Regions from separate parts of the Homo sapiens genome. Here region 1 is linked to region 2. The links are contacts of gene promoters, found by promoter capture Hi-C in blood cells and fetal thymus (Javierre and others, 2016). All regions are on one chromosome and are shown on one strand. The core of a region is centred on a gene start or on the middle of the fragment in contact, and the rest is flanking DNA. Distances in the headings are between cores, read along the strand shown.

Region 1 (4,903 bases), core at 360-2,859, 570 kb before region 2:
TAAAGGGCCTAGTCCTTTCCTTCCACAACTTCTTTTATGCTGACCCAAACATGAAAAATCATATACAAATGCCATATTGTTGTGACTGCTTTTTAAAATTATTTATCATGGTTCATCTTAATGATTCATCATTAGCAATACATATTTCTTTCTGACAAATATGTATATATTATATATTTTATTTAAATAATTATATAATAAAATGTACTAAAATGTATTCAAGTATTTTATATTTGATTACTATTAGAATGTTTCCTATTTTTTGCCATTACAAACAAATTACATTACGTGTCACCAGATGCATGTCCTTTGGTGTTGGTACTTTGTTTTCATTGGCGATATTCACCAAGTGAAATTACTTCAGCAAATGTTGTGTGCCTGTGTGTGTGTGTGTGTCTTTGATTTATTGATATTGCCGAAATATTTTTTAAATGATTGCAGCAACTTGCACTGGATGTTGTTATATTTTGAATTTTTGCCAATTAGCCCAAGGCTTAAGTATCCCGTTAATGACTTGTAATCCTCACTGTGCATTTTACTTTTATTCTCCTTGACTATTAGTGAGGACAAGCAGGATTTTGTATGTTTATTGACTCTTTAGATTTCTTTTGTGAATTTCCTTAGCATAAGTCTTTGCTTATTTTTCTATTGAGTTCCTTTTCTATTTCTCACCAATTTATAGAAGCTTTTTGTGTAGTAGGGAATTTATGCCTTTATCTATCATATCTGTTGCAATATTTGCCCCAATCATTTGCCTTTGATGTTGTTTATGGTGTTTTCCTTTTATGAAAATATGTGTGTAGATAAATATGACTATTTTTCCCTTATCACTGCTAAGCTTCCTGTTTTTTAGAAAGAACTTTCCCATCTAAAGATAGGAAATTCTTCAAAATATTGTTGCAATGATTATATTAATTTAATGTTTATATTTAAATTTTTAAAATTCCGTCTGGAGTTTATTTTGGTTTAGAGTATGAAGTCAATATATATCTTTGTTTTATTTTCGAAATATGACCAAGTATTTAAGTATACATTGATTGATAAACTCCTAATTCCCAACTTGATTCAATTGTCATGCTTGTAACAATTCCTTAAATTCCTAACACACTCTTTTGGATGCTCTACTCTTTACACTGATCTTTTTCTTTCTTTTTTAATTTTTCCTGTGCCTGCTTCTGTTTTTTTTTTTTTTTCAATTTTAATTTTGGTGAGTATATAGGTGTATGTAGTAATGGGGTATATGAGATATTTTGATACAGACATATGATGTGTATCATCCCAGCACTTTGGAGTGTTGAGGTGGAGGGATTGCTTGAGGCTGGGAGTTCCAGGCCTCAGACTATTTTGATTATTGTGATTTTATATTATAGTAATAGCCTTTCAGTATCACTTTTTATGATATAAGCTGTATTTTTTAGGGTTAAAAGAGGATAAGTATATTTTAACTTGAATTTTTATTATAGTTGAAGTCATTATGCAACATATAAAGTGTTTCTGTTTTTCGATGCTAGATTATTATACAAATATGTGAATGACTTTTTAAAGTTAAACTACCCTTATAAGGCCAGCAGAGGGAGTTCAAGGCACTGTTTTACTAGTGAGGAATTACAAATTGTTTAAGAATATATTCTTTTACTGATTAATGGAATAAAGTTAAGAATTCAAAATATTCACTCAAATATCTTGATTGGTCAAAGTTTACACATACATAATCAAAAAGTGCCTATATATTTATAGCCCTCCAAAAGTCAAATCATTTAGGAATGAATCTAAATTTCCTTTTGAAGGAGGGAAATTTTTGGCATATATTTAGTTTATGTACACAGTGCAGATAACATAAAATTGAAATGAGTATAGTAAATGTGATTTCTACTTACCTTTTATGACCAAAGTCAGAAAAAAATCAGAAGACTGTAAAATAGTTAATAAATATATATAAATATATATTCTTTTGTCTTATTTGATCACATGAGCATAGTTTTCAAATGTAAGAATATACATAGAAACAGAAGAAAACCTTGAATGAATAATACCTCTAAATATTTTTAAGTGCTTTTCCCCTTCAAGTGTAGGAAATTAGAAAAGGATGAAAACATGATCAGCTAAAAGGGGATTGACTATTTAGCAGGAACTTTATAAATGAACTAATCTTGGATATGTTATTCCAATGGAAGTTTTGTTTGCAGCCTGCTGCTCTTTGCTATTTATAAATACTAGAATGATGGAGACTGCTAGGAAGCAGAAAATGCTTCACTGAACTTCTCGGTGACAGTAATTCAATCAAGCAAAGGTTACAAAAGCCCTGTGGGCTGCTTGTTATGTGATAGCAGAGGTAGACCTGATTTTGTTGTATCAGATATTATTTAAGTCAGGAAGCTTAGTGTTAAATTTAATGCTCTATCAAAGTAAGTCTATTATTCTGAGTTTGATATATCCATTTCATTTTTGTTCTAGATTTTGTTCTGTTTGTTTTCTATATATATTATCTGCTGTGTGTGTGTGTATGTGTGTATATATACAGGCATACCTCACTTTATTGCCCTTCGCTTTATTGTGCTTCTACTGTGGGTAGAATGCTATCAAACAGCATTGCATGCTACAGGCTACAGAGAAATCTTTTCTGAAGAGAAAAATTGGTTGATGAGGCAAACTTCATTGTTATTGTCTTATTTTGAGAAATTGCCACAGCCATCCCAACCGTTAGCAACCACCACCTTAATTAGCCAGCAGCCATCAACATCGAGGCAAGACTCTCCACTGACAAAAAGATTACGACTTCCTGAAGGCTCAGATGATCACTAGCATTTTTTTAGCAATAAAGTATATTTAAATTAAGGTATATACATTGGGTTTTTTTAGACATAATGCTTTTGCACAGTTAATAGACTACAGTATAGTGTAAACATAATTTTTATATGCACTGGGAAACCAAAAGATTCATGTGACTCACTTTATTACCATATATACTTTATTGTGGTGATCTGGCACTGAACCCACAGTATCTCTGAAATAAGCCTATATAGATTTATTTATATAATATTGTGATGTGTAATTTATTTTATGAAACACAATATATTATAAATAAAATTGAATATTTAAAGGTATAATAATGTGTTGATAAAGGTTTTAAAATTTATTTTAAAACTAAAATTTCTCAACTATATGCTATACATAGTACAGCAATAATTAAATTTTGAAAAAATATTCAGAATGATATATTTAAACTCTTATCATTATTGAATTTTCCATGCTTTCATTTTAAATATTTTACATAAAATGAGCATTTAAGTTTTGAATTTTGCTAGGAAACACAAATATAACAACTTTTAAATTCCTAGTCATACTTCGCAAAAAGTTGTAGTATTCTTGTAAAATACACTCATTTTAAAACAGGCTTAGAAAACAATTGTAAATAATATATTTGATTATCCATCTTTTCTTGGAGATAAGAAATAACAGAGTATTACCCTAAAATGCATTATAAAGCAAAAAGTTATACATATTTTAGTATATAAACTTAAAAATATTTCTATATTTTTAAGTAAAAATAAGCAGTTAAAAGACAAGCTTCAAACTGGGAAAAGACATTTATACAATATATTAAAGACACAGATCACAGAATAAACTTTTCTGATTCACAGGATAAAGTTTCCCAATTCAATATTTTTTAAAAAGCAAGCATTTCCAAGTATAGGTATTTCTTAAAAGAAAAAAATAAAAATGATTTCTAGATACATTCTCACCAGAATAAGCAAATTTGCATAATGAAGTTTTTCATCTATGTTTTTTGCCTTTCAATTTGGCTAATAAAAACAATGATAATGTACAGTATTGAAATTTGGGGAAGCAGTAACTCAGGTGCATTTTCAGGGTGTCTAATTTGATGCAATTTTCCAGACAATTTCTTGACATTTATCAAGAGATTAAAAAATATCCACACACTTTGACCTGATAATTACATTTCTGATAATTTATCCTAAAGATATAATCTTTGTCATTTTACATTGACTCTCCCTTTTTCCTGGAAGCTCTTCCTCAGATAGCTACATGGCTAACTCCCCACTGTCTTCTCATCTATCTTTACTCATATGTCACCTATTCGATAAGGTCTTCCCTAACTAGCCTGTTTAAAATGCAGATCGAATCCTTCCAACTCATACTCCCTTATTCTGCTTTTTTTTCTTTACTCCATAGCACAGTACATCTTCCAACATACTTATAATTTGTGTACTTATCGTGTGTATTGGTTATCATGTCTTCCCTCAGTTGAATTTAGGCTCAACAGGGACTGAAACCCTTGCCTTGCTCCAAGATGTCTCATTTCCCCAATTTTCTGGAAGAGTATCCAGCATGTAGTAGGTGTTTATAATAAATATTTGTTGAATGAGTGAATGTCAAGGATATTAATTTTAACATCATTAATGATAGCAAAATTTTTTTAAAAAGAAAAAATTTATCTTAAAAATTCCTCTGGGAATGGTTAAGTAAATCATGATCTATCCATGTGTATTATTTTCCTAGGGCTGTCATAACAAATTACCACAATCTGGGTGGTTTATGACAACAAAAAATGTATTGTGTCACAGTTCTGTGGGCCAGTGTCTAGAATCGAAGTGTTGATTCCTTCTGGAATCTCTGAAGAAGAATGAGTTCCATGCCCCCTAACTTCTAGTGGCCACTGGAATCTTTGGTGTATCACTGCAATCTATGCCTCAATCTTCATAACACCTTCTCTCTGTCTGTTGCCACTTCTATACTCTCCTAAGGTCACGTACCATTGGATTTAAGGCCCACCCTAATCCAGGATTATCTTATTTTAAGATCCTTAACTTAATCACATTTGCAAAGATTCTTTTTCCCAAATAAGGTCACAGATTCATGTAGACATATTTTGGAGGGCCAC
Region 2 (4,910 bases), core at 2,359-4,858:
TGCCTCAGGCAGTGCAGCTTCCATCTCCTCAGACAAAGATGGAAAGGCTGACTGCATCATGGGTCAGGGAGTGGATGTTGCCACTACTGGGGATGGAGAAGCTGTTTTTCTGGCAAAAAAGATTCATCAGAGTTCACAAACTCAGTGTCCCCTGCTTTATCAGGGTCCCTCCAGAGATCCCCATTCCAAGTTGAGCGGTCCTATTCTTTTCCAGTCAATAACATCACTTTAACAGTAGACACCTGGCAAGACACCTGGCACCTTTACTTACAGGAAATCCTGTGTATATACGTATATATACATATATACACATCCTATTACTTCTGTCCCGCTAGAGAACCCTGATTAATACAGATTTTGGTACCAAGAGTGGTTTTAGAGGAACAAAATATTAAGAATGGAGTTATTTTATTGGTTTTGGAGCTTCTAGAGTTGGCTGCTTAATATGATTAGACCCCAAAATGCTAAGGACTCTACTTATAATAGTATGGAGAACACTGATAGTCTTGGTGTGAACATATATACATATATATACGTATATATACATATATACGTATATATATGTACATATACACATCCTATTACTTCTGTCCCACTAGAGACATACACACACACACACACATATATATATATACTTCTGTCCTGCTAGAGACATATATATATATATATATATATATATATATATATACACACACATATATATATATGAGTTTATTAAGTATTAATTCACATGATCACAAGGTCCCACAATAGACTGTCTGCACACTGAGGAGTAAGGTGAGCCAGTCCAAGAACTGAAGAATTTGGCGTCCAATGTTCGAGGGCAGGAAGCATCCAGTGCAAGAGAAAATGTAGGCTGGAAGGCTAGGCCAGTCTAGTCTTTTCACATTTTTCTGCCTGCTTTATATTCTAGCTACGCTATCAACTGATTAGGTGGTGCCTATCCAGATTAAGGGTGGGTCTTACTGTCCCAGCCCACTGACTTTAATGTTAATCTCCTTTGACTACACCCTCACAGACACACCCAGCATCAATACTTTGCATCCTTCAATCCAATCAAGTTGACCCTTAGTATTAACCATCACAGGAGTGTATAGACAAAAAAACTCATAATTAAAATAAAATGTTAAGAAGAAGCATTAGTACATGTGGCTACTATAATATTATATTCTGGTGTGGACTACTTTGATTGATATTAGGCACTAAGACTAATAATGGCTTTCACTACTTCTACTTAAATCTGGTTGACTATTCAGGAGACAAGCATATCTCATCTTAATAATTCATTGGGCATCAAAAACAGTAGAGTCAGATTTATATTAGTATGGGGGATGTTTTTTCTTTGAATAAAAAATATTTCCCTGTTCTTTTTTTTTTTTTTTTTTTTTGCTCTGTGCTTCTTTTGTTCCCAAATTTCTCCAGATGTATCTACACAGTGTTTCTCAGAGTGGGATCCCTGACCTAGCAATATTAGTACCACCTGGGAACTTAATAGGCACGTAATGAATCAGATGTAATGAATCAGAAACTCGAAGGATAGGGCCCAGCAATCTGTGTTGTAACAAGCCCTTCTGGAGTGTCTCTTGTATGCTAAATTTAAGGGCCTAAACTAGAGAAACTGGTGCAGGTGGTAACTCTTCTCATGTGAATCGGCTCACCTAATGCCTCATGCAAAATTGCTACTTTAAACAGTCTTTCTCAGTTTTAATATATTATTTACACTCTTTGCAGTGAAGTTAGCAGTGATAATGTCAAGTTTTTCAGCTGAAATTTACTATGAAGACTGTATCTTCTTAACAAAATATCCTTTAACTCGTGATATTTTTTTCTGCCTCCCATTATCAAAGTTTTTCTTTCTGCGATACCTACCATGGGTTAGCCTTTAACTATGCTGTGTCAACTGTATGTGGGGATTATACTTACAATTAAAACTTGTATTTGACATACGAATGGGACTCAAGGAAATCAAAACTCTTCTTGGAAACAGTAGGAACATCTGAGCCAGTAATTAACAAACGTTGATTGCCAAGGAAATTCAAACCAAGGTTTAATAAGGAAGGAATTCTTGTAAAAATAGACATAATAGCTATATGTAAAAATAAGAATATCTCTCATGTATAAGGAATTTTTATGTTTTGTGTAGAATTCTAGAGAGTGAAAGTTATGAGTACTGATATATGATTAGTATGTTGAAGCTATTACAATATGAAGTTTGTCTGAAAATAGACTAGGCTATCCTGTGAGGTGAAGAGTTTCCTGTAGTTAGGGGTATTTAAGCCACATCAAATTGTGGGTCGATTGGGTGGTCTAGACCCTTCCTCCTCAAGTGTAGTACCATCTGGGAGTCATTAGAAGGGTAGAATTTCAGGTTTCACCCCATTCCTGGTGAATCAGTATCTACAACTTAACAAGATCCATGGATGATCTGTATGCACATTATGTCTGAGAAATAGTGCTCCAGTTGACATCTAATGAATTTTCGTATTATTTTTATACTTCTTATAGGATTGTGTTGTGTTGTAAAATTTAAATAACAGTCTAGAATAGAAGTTGGGTAAATACATGAGCTTTACCCCACTTTCCATTGTAAAGTCGCTAACTGAATTAAATACTTCCCTCAGAAACAAAGATTGTTTCTTGGATATTGTAGTTAATTTTAAGTGAACAGTTATTTACATACTAGTTCTTTGTTAACTTTGGACTCTTGGCGTTACACAAAAGTAAAACACGTCTTTTGGCTTTCGTGTAGCACACTCAGAATATTTTCAGTAACCCCCAAAATATATTCAGTGTTTAATCCTCCAATTCCTTCATGCATGTCCTCTTCATTTTCACCAAACCCAGCAGGATTCGTGACTCTCCCTCACAGAAACGTTCCCTTTCTGCTCAGAGTAGGTACTGATTTTGTCTCCTGCTTCCTCAGTCTGTATGAATGGACAGCAGCAACGGAAAGAAAAGAGGGTAGGTAAAGGGAGGTGGAGATATAAGGGGGACTGGAGCGCGATGGAGAGACCAGACTCTGCTCAAAGCTAAAATTTACTCGGGCAGGGAATACTTAACATACAATTCCCATTACCAAAACAATATGAATGAAGAAGAACTGAAGAGGTAATGAGAAATGACAGATGCCGCCACACCCTAGATTGGCTCAGGTCCCTACAACCATGACTACCATGCCCTGGCCCAGTGGGAAGAAAGCTGCTTAAAGAAATGACAAGCACAGAAGACCGGGGAGCCAAAAGGTGCCCAAGTCCGTTCCCATCCCCACCAGCGCAGGCTGACACAAGCGAAGGCTGTAGAGCCCATTGTGTGAAAGAAGCCCAGGCGGGGAAGCGTGTGCCCCCTTCCCACTTTGCCCATCCCTGGCCCTCGCCTTCGCAGGGGGCACTGGGAGCAGAGCGAGCCTCGGCAGCCCGGGAGCGGCTCTGGGGGAGACGAGTGTATCCGCGGGCGCGTGTGCGTGAGGAGGAGAGCAAAGACGTGATTACTTCAGAATTTATTTAAGGGCCGGTGGAAACCACTGCAGCAGCTTCCAGGGGAAGCCCTTGTTCCAGAGGAAGAGGAGGTGGTGGCTGCCAAGGAGGAGGAGGGGAGGAGACGGAGGAGGAGGAGTAGCAGCCACCGCACGAGGCAAGTGAGGAGAGAAGATGCTGTAGCGTCCTCACCGGCTGCCAGCAGGTTGGTTCTTCCGGCCAATTGAAGCAAGCAAAGAGGCTTGCAGAAAGGCCGGGAGGAGAAAAATGGGTGTGTGTGCTGTGGCGGCGGGGGGGCGGCGGGGGGGAGGGAAGGGGGGCCGGGGGACGGCGTGGGGTGATGTTTGCCTTTCCAGAGAAAAAGCGCCTCCTTTAAGTGAAACGAGACACGGGAGCGCGCGGAAACAGGCTGGGGGCCAGGAGGAGACCTGTCCTGCTTTTTGCATCCCTAGGGACTCGTTTTCCTTTAGGTTTCTAACTCCCAGGGTTAGCCTTAAACTCCAGAGGGGCTCCAGGAGGGGAGACTGGGTGGAGAACTTCTCTCCCAGATACTTCTCACGCCTTTTCTCCAAGCTTTCTTTTGGAGGGACGCCCCACACACCCCGGGTGGCCCGGGCGCGGAGGGGGAGCGGCGCCGCGTGGTTAAGTTTCTGAAAGTCAAACCCAGTCCCCGGTCTCCGGTCTCCGCCCCGGGGCTCCAGCTGCACGCGGGGAGCTGCGGCTGTTCTGGCAAAGGGGCCGCGGCTGCTTTAAGAGCCGCCTCCCCCTCTCCTCCTTTGACAATGGTCTGAACCGAGCTTTGCTTCCCAAAGCAAAATTTGTAATATGCCATTTTTCCGATGGACGCTTCTCCTTTTGGCTGCTGACGGAGCCACGGGAAGATGCCGAGCTCCTGCCACGCCACCGGGCCGGGGCACGTTCCGGGAGGGCGCCGGGGCACGCGTGTGTCTGAGCTGCCTTTCTCCTCCCGTTGCTAGGGAAATGGTCCAGGAGTGCTGGGTGTGAGCCTCCCTTCTCCTCAAGCCGGAGACTGCGGTTGTCATTGATCAATTGAAGAAGCAAGGACCCGAAATCACAGACATTAGGTACAGAAGCTGTCTTTGAGTTTTACTGTCTCCTTTCGCTGTATTTTTTGACCACCTCCCCGGCCCCACCCCGCCCCCAGGGAAGATGAGATGCAAATTCCTCCTTGTTGATTACCGTTAGGTGCCTTTTGCTTTCACCTCATCCTCTCCATCTCCTATCTCTCTACCTCCTGCCTACTTGGCTGTGTCCTGTTGGGCAGGATGAACAATTTTAGTGTGGAAATGATGAAGTCAACTTCTTCAAGGTGGTGGGGGGTGTGGCTGAGAGATAACTGTCCAGTAGTGTGGGTTGAGCTGGCTCTGGCTGTCCGTAAATGCACTAGGGTAAAGAAAGTGTAAAATGTGTCCATTA

The links. Contacts are between HindIII fragments. The CHiCAGO score rates a contact against its expected background, and 5 or more counts as called.
Region 1: a contact is called between a fragment that was not itself captured here and the fragment with the promoter of PPFIA2 in region 2, in 1 of 17 cell types (M1 macrophages). The highest score is 5.9, in M1 macrophages.

What each region holds. Positions count from the first base shown.
Region 1 is chr12:82,323,777-82,328,679 of GRCh38, reverse strand. No RefSeq gene overlaps it. Among named protein-coding and RNA genes, the nearest start is that of CCDC59, 32 kb to the left of the region's middle. The HindIII fragment of the contact is 1,538 bases long and covers 841-2,378 here.
Region 2 is chr12:81,758,048-81,762,957 of GRCh38, reverse strand. PPFIA2 (PPFI scaffold protein A2) reads left to right here and starts at 3,608. Exons shown (of 33, transcript NM_003625.5): 1 at 3,608-3,678; 2 at 4,451-4,558. RefSeq lists an enhancer at 3,810-4,748. The HindIII fragment of the contact is 5,625 bases long and covers 1-4,048 here.